Linked DNA regions of Homo sapiens: region 2 is linked to region 1. The links are contacts of gene promoters, found by promoter capture Hi-C in blood cells and fetal thymus (Javierre and others, 2016). All regions are on one chromosome and are shown on one strand. The core of a region is centred on a gene start or on the middle of the fragment in contact, and the rest is flanking DNA. Distances in the headings are between cores, read along the strand shown.

Region 1 (5,787 bases), core at 1,036-3,535:
CTCCAAAAAAGTACATTATACCAAATATACTACTCTATAATACATGAATATAATAGACAATCCTGCTGTTTGTACCCAATTCTGTCACCTCCCTAATAGCACCAGTGACTTTAGCTGGGCAAATAGTGAGAGTAAATACCACATCCCCAGCCTCCCTAGCAACAATGTGTGACCAAGTGTCTAAATTCCACCCAATGAGATCATGAAAGTGACATGTACATGTTCAGGGTCACATTTTTCAAAGGACGGGAGCAACTTTCTCTTGTTCCTTTTATTCCTTTTTCTAGAAGGTAGATGTGTGGTGATCTCTCCTGGATCATATAAATGAGTTCAATTCCTTAAAAACATTGAGCATCAAGACAGAAGGAAGCTGAGTTTCTGATGACTAGACAGGGCAGAATAAACACACCAACCAAAAACCTATGTAAGAGAAGCATAAACTATATAATTCAGAAAATGTTATTTTGGGAATACATCATTTCAACATGTATTCTAATTAATAAAATAGCAATTTACCTCAGATCTTAGCCTTTGGTTATTTTCTCGACCCATTTAAATGTAACCCCCAAATTCTTCACATTATGTAGTCATACATTTTGAAATTAGCACTAAACAAACATATGGAAATAGTTAATTTAATAAGAGAACAATGTGTGTGTGTGTACCTAACCTGCTGCATTTAATTAAATATTATAAATTTCTCTTGATAGCTAATTTAACATGTCAATAACAGTATTATATTGAATACACACATATACCAGGCAAACACAAATACACACAAATATACGTATCAGAGGTAAAAAACTGAATATCTATTTTCACTTGACTCTGAAATTAAGGCACCCTGTCGAAGAAAACATACAAAACATAACAAAAACTATGGGCAAATGATACGGTGATAATTCAGAATTCTAGCTCTATTATTATCAAACTTTAGAGGGGCCATAAAATTTTCCTGATCTTAATGCCATCGTCTGTAAAATTAAGAGTTTCAAAAGTCCATTTCTGCTCTAAATGTCATTTAGCTGTTCAGCTCAGTGGAAATGTTTGGTGTTTTCAAATATAAAACTAATTGGTAAAATTCATCATATAATAACACTGTGATACATTAAAACCTTTTTGGAATCTAATTTTGAATCTCCCTCTCACTTCTTTTTTGCCCCTCAGATTGAGTTTCTTCCTTTTTCATTGTGCTGATTATGTAAGGGGCCTGTTGACTGTTAGAATGATCAAACAGGTACAGAGGAGGCAGTATGGCAACCGGAAACAATACTAAACTGGAAGTAGGAGTGTGGTATTACAGCTTTGACCCCGCCTCCAGTTAGTCCTGTGACAATTTAACATTCTGAGCATTTTTATCTGCTAAAGAAATAATAATAATAACAGCCCAAAATGATCTTCGTAATTTCTCCTCTAGCTTTAAAACTATAATTGACATATATGTATTTATATGCATATATGTATGTATATGTGTATATAATTTATTTATGGATGGCACTTTAAAAGGAATCTACCTGTAGCCGGAAAAATGCAAAGATGTTAATTACTTTGTGGAGCTATACTGACATCCTTTGGTAAGGTTTGGTTGATTGCAATTTGATGTGGAGATTGATAAATAGCGAGACAGTTAGATGTTTAAGTAGATAGAACAATCCAAATGTATTTACATCTGTCCACACACTCATTTGGGTATGAAACCCGTATTTATGAGAAAAAACAACGTTAAAAAGAAAAAAAAGGAGACTGTGTCAAGTTCAAAGTCTAAATATTTTAATAACACTAATTACATATTTACATTTTTAATAAAATATTTTATCTATAAAGTATTAAAATGCAAAGATTAGGCAGAGAAGACTGGCTCGCGGACATTCCAAAATGATGAGCGAGGTATGCACTCCTGTGACAATAAGCAACAAGAGAAGGGATTTGGAAAATCAAGCCGAGAAAGTTCCCTGAAAGCAAAAAATAAACATTTAAAATCACAACGAAAAATCACTCTGGTAACATATCAAATCTGGTTGCAATTTGACTTGGCGCTCTGATAATACTTGGATTTCGGTAGTCTGGTGTAAGGACGGTGCAGGAATATATATTCCAGAAGAACTATCTTTTTTTAAAAAAAATTGCAAGAAGCAGTCCTGTTCCTGAGATTGTATTACGGACACAGGCGGATTAGATTGGGCTGATTACCTTAGCCTTGAAACAGAGAGTCTTTCTGCCCTGCGGGGGAGGGGACGCCTTTCAAGCAAAGCCCTCCTCTCGGATGCGCCCTCCCCTCGCATTCACTTGCAAATCGCTGTGTGCTCGCAGAAGCCAGCACTTCCACAGTCTCTAACCTTCCCATGGCGAGTGCTGCAGCTCTATCAGCAGAACCTTTCTCTCCGTGTGAGGAAGAGCTTTTTTCCCCCCTTTCCTTTTTTTTTTTTTTCCTTTCCCCTTAATCAGAAGCACTGAATGAAAGCCAATCAGAGAGAGCTCGCCCCCGTTTTCTTCGGTTCCCTGCTGTCCAGAGTTAAAAGTGATGCTGAGAAAGAGCTTGAGTTAGATTGAAGTAGAATCAGTGATAGAAAATAACAGCCGAAAACAAACAAAAAGGGGACATAGTGACAATTTCTCCTGGGTTATTTTGGCTGGAACCAACTTCCATTATCCAGAAGCTGATAAAAAAGGTAGGAAGACTTCACCTCTTTCTTTTAACTCCGTTAAGGTATTATATATTCCTCCACTTGAGGGGTGGGGGGGGAGAGGGAGGAGATAAATGTTTGTTTTTAAGTTGTGTTTAGCAATTATTTCAAAATAATTATCTTTAATACTTAAATAAGCATACAACTCTATATATTTAATTCTAGAAACAACTGCTTCGAATATCTATATAGGCAATGTAAAGCTGGATAAATTATATATTATGCTCAACAGTGGGTCATGATATTAGAGTTTGTGAATTCATTCACTTGGAACAAATGCTAAAAAATATGTTATGAAGTGAATTTGTCATGCCCAGACTTGTTCATTTTTATTTTAAAAATCAGTTCAAGAGATAACATTGTTACTGTGAACTCTAACATCATCTAACATTACTTTGCATTCCATATGAATGGATTCACTCTGCACTTATTCGTAGTCATAGTTCATTGTACGTTCAATATAAACAGAAATGACAGGCAGAAGACAGATTCCTTGAAACTGTCAATGGTCACTAAGCATCTACATAAATACAATAGATTGACATTCATCAGAAATAGAATAGGCAGAATTCTTATTTTCAATTTTATATCTGAGTCAGAAGTATTGGGGGGAGAGAGGTAAAGAGAGGGAGAGTAAATGCATGTAGTCAGCAGTTGCAGCATTTATTGTTTCTGCTGCAATAAAATCCATATTTTATGTGTTGTTAAATTAATGCAGCATATTGCAAGTATAAATGCATGTCCCCAACAAGTAACTATTGATAGCACTGTAACTATGGGCAAAAGCAGTAGTCTGAAATTGTTTTTATGCCACTAAAATAAAAACCTACTGTCTCCTTATTATGAAAAAAGGGGAGTCTACAGGTACAAAGACAAATATTGTTTTAAAAATGACCTATCATCTTTTGCTTTGAAAAAACAGATGTTTCCTATAATTGTGGTCCTTCATTCCTTCATTCCAGTGAAAGCTTCTATTATCCAAAACTGCACATCCATTACTTCTCAGCTCTTTGGAGATACATTATTTTTTCTCCTCTTTTTTTTTTTCTTGAAGGATCTGTATTAAAAATAATCTGTCCTTCTGATGTTGACAACTGTTATACTTCAATGCATATGTTAGTAGACTTTCTCCCTCCATACCATCCCCCTCTCTATCTTCCTTTAAAACGTAGCTACAAGAGCTTCTCTGTGGTGAATAACACTTGGCAAGAGTGTGCTCATTTTTTAGGTCTGGTATGGTGAGGATTTTTAATTAGTAGAACTTTCATGAAAACATTATGTCATTGACAGAGCCGTATGTTCATTTTTAGTTAAAAGTGATGAAGAAGAAAGAAAGAGGTTATGTCCTAGAAACACAGGTAAATGCTAAGTCGCATAGATAATCTGCACCCCGCTCCCCCGAGTGTACTAAATGTGGCACATATGTATTCAATGTGCAATGCATAAGGAAGTAATGGTTTATTTGGGGAGGGATGTGGTGAAGAGACTGGAGAGTGCACAGGTGTAAACAGCGTGGATCTGTGCCTTAGGGACACGTCAGATGCAAACCCATTCTGATGATAAAAATATAAAGAAATACTTCTTTCACTTTTTTTTTTTTTGGCTGTGTTATTAAAGTGTGAGTCAATGTCTGCTTTCATTAAATCAGATACTTCTTGGGTTTCAAATACTTGCTGTGAACAAATTGACTTCTCTGGTGAATGCATACGCCTTCCCTGACTTCAATCAAAGAATAGAATTTCATACACTTAAAGGTTTGGGGGAAAAAAAACAACAAACAAAACCAAAATCTCTGGGAAATGGGAAAAAAGAAGGTAAACTGTATGAGCATCCACCTACATATGCATATGTGTGAAGTCAATGGTTAAATTGTTTGGTACCTGATTAATGCTCTAGGTGATGTTCCTTGATGTTTATAGAAACTGTTTATTAATTAGAACAGTGCTATGCAGGTAATCAATTTAATATTTCATTGTTAGATTTTTACCCACACTGGGATTTTCTTTAAAAAAGAAAAAGAGAGGATACAAAACTGATTTTAATTTAGAGTGATATTTCTGACACGTTATTTACAAAGTTAGTGTAATCTGGAAGAGGTATGTTTTTTTTCTTGTTGAAAAATAGACTACTTGAAACTGGAAAGGTTAATTCCAAAATATATGAATCTTGCATAAAAAATAGGGTGAATTTCTTGACCTTTACTTAATTTTTTATATAAGCAAATAACTGAGGCAAAGTATATACTATCTGGGGGATTTCTGTGCTTATGACTGATTTCCTATGTCTCTTAACCTACTTTGCAGTAAGTGATAACACGTCTTACTGGAATATGTCATTTTTATACCAAATCATTCCACTAGGCTGCAGCACAGCAGCAGTATTGGCTCTGATGATGCTGAATCAGCAGCAAAGTGAACCATATTCTTGTTAAGTGTTATTATCAGTAATAGTGTTTCATAGTAAGCAATTAATACAAACCAGTGATGCAAACCCAACTATCTCTAGTGTAGCCCTTGGGTATTAAAAGCATTAGCCATATTATATTCTGATTTCTACTATGCAAATTACATTCTAATACTGCTGTCACATTAGAAGTACTTGTAAAATACTGAAATTATAAATAGAAAAACAGTAAAATTATTTATGCCAATTATAAGTAATTTTATGCAGATATTTGATCTCTAAATTTCAGGTCTATGTTTGAAAACTCTACTTTCAATTAACCCAACATATTATCTGGAATAGGGTTTCAAAAGAGACAACTTACTAACCATATTGTATTTAACAGTCATGTCTGGAATAGATTGAAGTTAAAAACCAAGTAGCAAGAAACATTTCCTCATCCTTCTTAAACGTATACTGAGCAATGGTAAAATTGATTAAGCGTTATACTAAGTACAATATATGGTTCATATTATGATATTTTAAGTAGTAAAAAGAAGCGTTCTCGGAATGACACTATAGATGCATATTTGAAAAACTGAAAGTTAGCACAGACAAATCTATTTATCTTTTCTTGACACTTACACAGACCAATGAGTTCACAAAAATATATTGTTTTGTCATAATTACAATAATCTGAAATCTACAGAAAAAATACAAG
Region 2 (5,787 bases), core at 909-3,408, 4.1 Mb before region 1:
TGTAGTGATATTTCGTTAAGTACAGTAAACATCAAGGTATTACTATATCAAACAAGATATTTCAAGAAGATATAACTCAGATATGAATATGGAATTGGGCAATCAGAAATGAAATAGAACGTAATCTGTTCCCAGACTCTTCCTACATTGCTACCTGTTGTTCCTTATGAACCTGGCATTATACTTGCATGCACACACACATACACACATGTATATTTTATGGTGAGGGTTTTACTAAATATTTTGTTATTGCCATAGTAATCATCTTACAGTGAATTGCCATCTTTCTGCTACCCATTCCCTTGCCCCTTAGCTTCTTGCATTTTTATTTATTTATTTATTCATCCATTCATTCATTCATTTATTTATTTTTGAGATGGAATTTCACTCATGTTGCCCAGGCTGCAGTGCAATGGCTCAATCTCAGCTCACTGCAACCTCCACCTCCCGGGTTGAAGCGATTCTCCTGCCTTAGCCTCCCGAGTAGCTGGGATTACAGGCGTGCACCACCACCCCAGGCTAATTTTTTATATTTTTAGTAAAGACAGGGTTTCACCATGTTAACCAGACTGGTCTCGAACTCCTGACCTCAGGAGATCCACCTGCCTCGGCCTCCCAAAATGCTGGAATTACAGGCGTGAGCCACTGTGCCCGGCCTATATTTGTTTTTATTTTCCCCAGAACATACTTTACTCTTTACTTTGCCTGGAAACAATCTGCATTCCAAATATGTTTAGAATTGCTATAAATGAGTAAGAGAAATACATAGCGTAATATTTTTAAATGAGCACAAAAATGAATTATGTATTCTATAATTCTATGAAAAGGTGTGTTCAATCTTGTAAGCATCAAAGCAAAACAAAACAACCATCAGAGTGGCAAAAGAAACAAAAAATTTCACTGTGCAGTGTGGATAAGAGAATAAGTTGATACAATCATTTTGGTAATTAGGATATATATACAAATTTGGAAGATGTACATAACTTATCACACAGAAATCCCACTGGATTTTATCGTAATAGATTTGAACTAGAAGAAAATCCTATGTCTATCAATTACAAAATAAATAATTATTTCATATTGATACAATGAATTACCATAGAGCAATAAAAATAAACGGTATCTCTAATATATAAAATTATCTAAGATAATTTTCACAAACCTTGACTGAAACAAGATATCAAATAAAAAACATATATTACCATTAATAAGCATAACAGACAAAACAAAATTAACTTTTAGGATGAATACAAAGGTGTATACCTTTTTTAAAAAAAGCAATATTTGGAGGCCAAGGCGGGCCAATCACGAGGTCAGGAGTTCATGACCAGCATAGTGAAACCCTGTCTCTGCAAAAAATACAAAAAATTAGCCGGGCATAGTGTCAGGTGCCTGTAATTCCAGCTACTCAGGAGGCTGAGGGAGGAGAATTGCTTGAACCTGGGAGGCAGAGGGTGCAGTGAGCCGAAATCACACCATTGCCCTCCAGCCTGGGCAACAGAGCGAAACTCTGTCTTAAAAAAAACAGGAGACAATTATTATAAATTGTAGTGTAAAGTTTACACCCAAGTCAGTTGCAGAAAGCTTTCATATTTATAGATGCATTGCTGGAGGCTTCTTGAATACTGGTTATAGTTATAGCCATGGCTCTTTGTTGTACCTTATTTTTTCCAGGCACATAAATTTTTATGTATATTCTTTATGTATGTTAAATCCTAACAAAACAAATACAGATTAATTTTAAAATACTAATTGGTTCTGTAATAAAGTAAACCTATTATGATTCACCTGCATAGAAAACTAAAATCCTAAATAGGATTCACAGAATATTATTTTTCAATGAGCAAGCCGAATCCCAGTAGTCTGCCTGAATGTTCCATCTGTGGCATATACTAGTTGTTTGCACTTGGCAAAGTTATTTTGTATCTCTGAGCCTGTTTTGTGATTTCTACAAAACTAATAGTAAAGGAACGCTTATCATCTCATTGTTGTGAGGATTCAATAATATGTGATATGAAAACTGCTTTACAATGTGGCTTATGATTATGATTATTATTTTTATTTAAACCATACTGTTAATTAAGAATGGAACTGGAACTGCTCTTGAGCCTTCCTGCTTCACAATGTATCCCTCACTTCTCTAACACATTCTGCTTTTAGGTTCCTCAAGGGCTCTGTGCAATTTAGTTTTATTTTCAGAATCATAAATCATCTCTGTCAAGCCTAGCATGTCTAGGCAAACATCCCATTATGGTGAGATTAAATTTTAATTTTTTGGAAATAAAAAATATCCAACAAGAATAACAACCTCATTAGATAAAAATGCACCTCCTGTGAGTTTGTGTCAATAATAAGACTAAGGATGTGATCTGCACTCTAGAATATTAACATATCAACTCTACCAACCAACAGTTATCTTCAATAATTTCATTTAAAAATTTTCGGTATAATCAGTTTTGAAATGTTTGTATGTGAGTCTTTCTAAAACAATATTTGACAATATTCTATTTCATATCTGAGTACTCTATTTTACATTTGTTTCTGAGTTTATCTACTCTAGTTTGTATTTCATTAAGTATGGTAAACAGCAAGGTATTGCTGCACCAAACAAGGTATTTCAAGAAGAAATAACTGAGAAATGAATGTGCAATTGGGTAATCAGAAAAGAAATAGAATGTAATTTCTTCCCAGTGTATTTTTTCATGACTACTTATGGTTTCTTTTGAAGCTTATGTAGAGGTTTTGTAATTGTATGACAGTAAAAGCAAATCTTGGTTTATAACTTAGGGTTAAAAAATCCTGATTGTGTTCACACAGTAACCAATTGTCTGTTTGTCTATTTGTTGAGTTTTTATGGCCTTCTTTATATTCACAGTATTAAATTTATTGTGGTACAAATGGATGGTTAAGGCAAGCAGAAACGCATACTTGTCTAATTTAAATATGTATTTGCTTTTATTTTCTATTACATTTCAGCTCATTAATTTAATTTAGTACATTTTCTCCTGTGCAACTAGAATGTTTATTAACGTGCTTATAACACATAAATGAGCAAGCCACACCAAAATATAGATTTTTTAGTTAAGACTTAAAATTTCCACCAGATGGCAGCCCAACCCCTAAAATGCTAGAGCTTACTAGAAACAGTAGAATGAATATGAAAATTTAATACTTGAGTGTCTGATAAAATAAAATGTTTTTTAATCTCTTAAAAATTAGTTATAATATATTGAATTATATTTAAGTTATTAAATGGGTAGGTATATAGGTATGTTAATATTTTGTTTTTTAGTCTTGATCTTATTTCACATTAAAGTTAAGAAACAGTAAATAAAATTTTTTACTAGAGACTGCATATTGTTTTCAAAAGTAAATAATAACATTAAACAGTATGTTTTCCTGAATGATGCACAAATTTCAAAATATTAGTTATGTACGTAAGGATCAGTGAAGGCAAGTCATATTAATTATGTCGACGTACAGATTTTTTTTAAAATAATACACAATTGATAAGCGCTATCTCTCTACTAGGAAAAAATAAAATAATAAAAACATTGATAATTTTAATAAGACATGCTTTTTGAATATAGAGGCAGAAATTAATTTTAGTGCAAAAACTATATTTAGTTTGGGGAGGAAAGAGATATTTTTATAGAGGGGATAATGCTTTATCTGGGCCTCAAGGAAGGTAAAATCAGTATTTATACATATGGGAAAAGGGAGAAAGCTATTCAGGAAATGGAGACCAGTGTATGTAGAGCCAAGGGTGTGAGAAGTGTCCTGGGTTGTTTGGAAAATGTGTAAGTTTGGGAGTAATCAGAAAATAAAATGAGTGCATCAAAATCAAGAGACAGAAGAGAGAAAAATATGGTAGATGATGATTATGAAGGCCTTGGAAACATACTAAAAAGTTTTAAAGCATAAACTATTTTAAATAAATCCCATTGCATATTTTAAGCAATGAAAGATTAATTGGGAAGCTGGAAAATCAGAGGCAAATTGTGTGCCCTGGGAAACAGTTTATAGAGTCTGATTCAAACAATAGGATGGAAAATGAAATGAAAAGAAGGTGACAGATGAACAAATGCACATTTCATTGGCGACTTCTTGTTATACTCCTTCAGTCACTAATAAGGAACCAATGCTTGCTCTTGGTTCCCAGGAAAGTGCCAAAGACTGTCCTGGGTTATTGTTTATCCCTTTTGCCTGTTTTAATGAACAATAGCAGTATTATTTTGGTAAGGGAGAAAAAAAGTATTTCTGAGATTTTTAATTTGAGAGACAGGACCATGATTGCTTTAACCAAGGTAGAGAATGCGTAAGTAACAAGCTGAAATGATGTTAAAATGAAGGAAGGGAAGACAGTGGTAGTTATCTTAGATTTGATATATTGATCTTTGGAAAGACAACCTAGTTGTTATAGCTAATAAGTAGTTGGGAACACAGATGAGACTGAAACTTTATAGAGATCTGGGCTGTAACAAAGATTTGACAGTCAAATCTGAAAAGCAACCTTTTGGGAGTGAATGAGGTTGTCAACGATAGTAGTAGGGAAGTGAGTAAGGAAGGACCCCAGAGAAGGTTGACACTGAAGTAGAAAGAAAATACATACATGCACACATTAAATAATATAACATTAATACTATTTAATGTGTATTGAGGATTTATCATCGCTCAGATACTCAATAAAATGCTTTAAATTTTAAAGAATATTGTGTCCTCTAAACAATTCTCTGAGGCAATATTGCTATTCCAATTTCACAGATGAGGAAATAGGTACAGAGAAGTTAGAAAATGTGGACTAGATGACACAGCAAGGATGTGGTAAAGTCAAGTTCTAAACTTCTATTATCTGATTCTATACTTTGAGCTTTTCTTCTCCAGGTTGTACTGTCTTTTAGGATAAAGTTCTAACTTCTCACATATTTTCCTTCCTTAATAAAATGATGAATTACATTGACAAATGATAAAGCATGCTTTCATTTTTGCTATACACTCTAGTTGAGAATATTATATTAAGCTTTTGGTATTATAGTTCCCTCCTTCCCTCCCTTCCTTCCTCCTCTCTCTTTCTTTTCTTTCTTCTTTCTTTTCTCTCTCTCTCTCCCCCCTCTCTCTCTCTCTTTTGTGTTTCTTAGGATTTTTACCTCTATATCTGTAAGTAAGACTTGGTTAATTTTTTTTTTTGCTTGTTTGCTTTTTCTAGAAGATGTTTGATAAAAGATTCTGGGAATGTAGACTGTCCTTAAGTCTTATATGTATTTATAATTCTTACATGCATTTATATGTATTTCAACACATGAAAATCGGAGCAACTTCCTTAACCACGAGAGTGTCTGTTGTTTTTTTAGTTGTTGTTATTGCTGCCACTGTTGGTTTCTGTCATTCCTGGCTGGGAAAAACGTCAGTTTGACTTTAGACTTGGGTTGGAAGTAGGAGTCAGTGGAAAGAGCAGTTGACATTACAGGTTGGAGAGGAATTGATGGCAAATCCTGGTCCTGGCAACACAGCTATGAAAGGAGATGCTAACAGTGGGACACAGGTTGACCTTGGGATTCGGGTATATATCTCTCCTAAACAAAAGGAAGAGAAAAGAAAGAATGAGGATGCAGAGTAATTTCTTCTGGAAATTTCTATCTCCTGCAACAAAACTGGATTAAGCAATGGGTGAATAATTGTGGGCCTGGACATTTACCCATATCATTAATTCAGAAAAAAAAGGTGTGATAAACAATAGATAGACACCTTTTTTATAGAAAAGTTGGTTTTGAAATATAGTGCTGTGTA

The links. The method cuts DNA at HindIII sites, captures the fragments that hold promoters and counts their contacts. A CHiCAGO score of 5 or more calls a contact.
Region 2: a contact is called between a fragment that was not itself captured here and the fragment with the promoter of CDH10 in region 1, in 1 of 17 cell types (endothelial precursors). The highest score is 7.5, in endothelial precursors.

What each region holds. Positions count from the first base shown.
Region 1 is chr5:24,641,476-24,647,262 of GRCh38, reverse strand. It overlaps CDH10 (cadherin 10), which reads left to right and starts at 2,285. Exons shown (of 12, transcript NM_006727.5): 1 at 2,285-2,669. LOC124901174 (a long non-coding RNA gene) reads right to left here and starts at 2,554. Exons shown (of 2, transcript XR_007059125.1): 1 at 2,191-2,554; 2 at 1,749-1,952. RefSeq lists an enhancer at 1,993-2,588. The HindIII fragment of the contact is 4,637 bases long and covers 1-3,654 here.
Region 2 is chr5:28,764,065-28,769,851 of GRCh38, reverse strand. No RefSeq gene overlaps it. Among named protein-coding and RNA genes, the nearest start is that of LINC02109, 380 kb to the left of the region's middle. The HindIII fragment of the contact is 1,144 bases long and covers 1,587-2,730 here.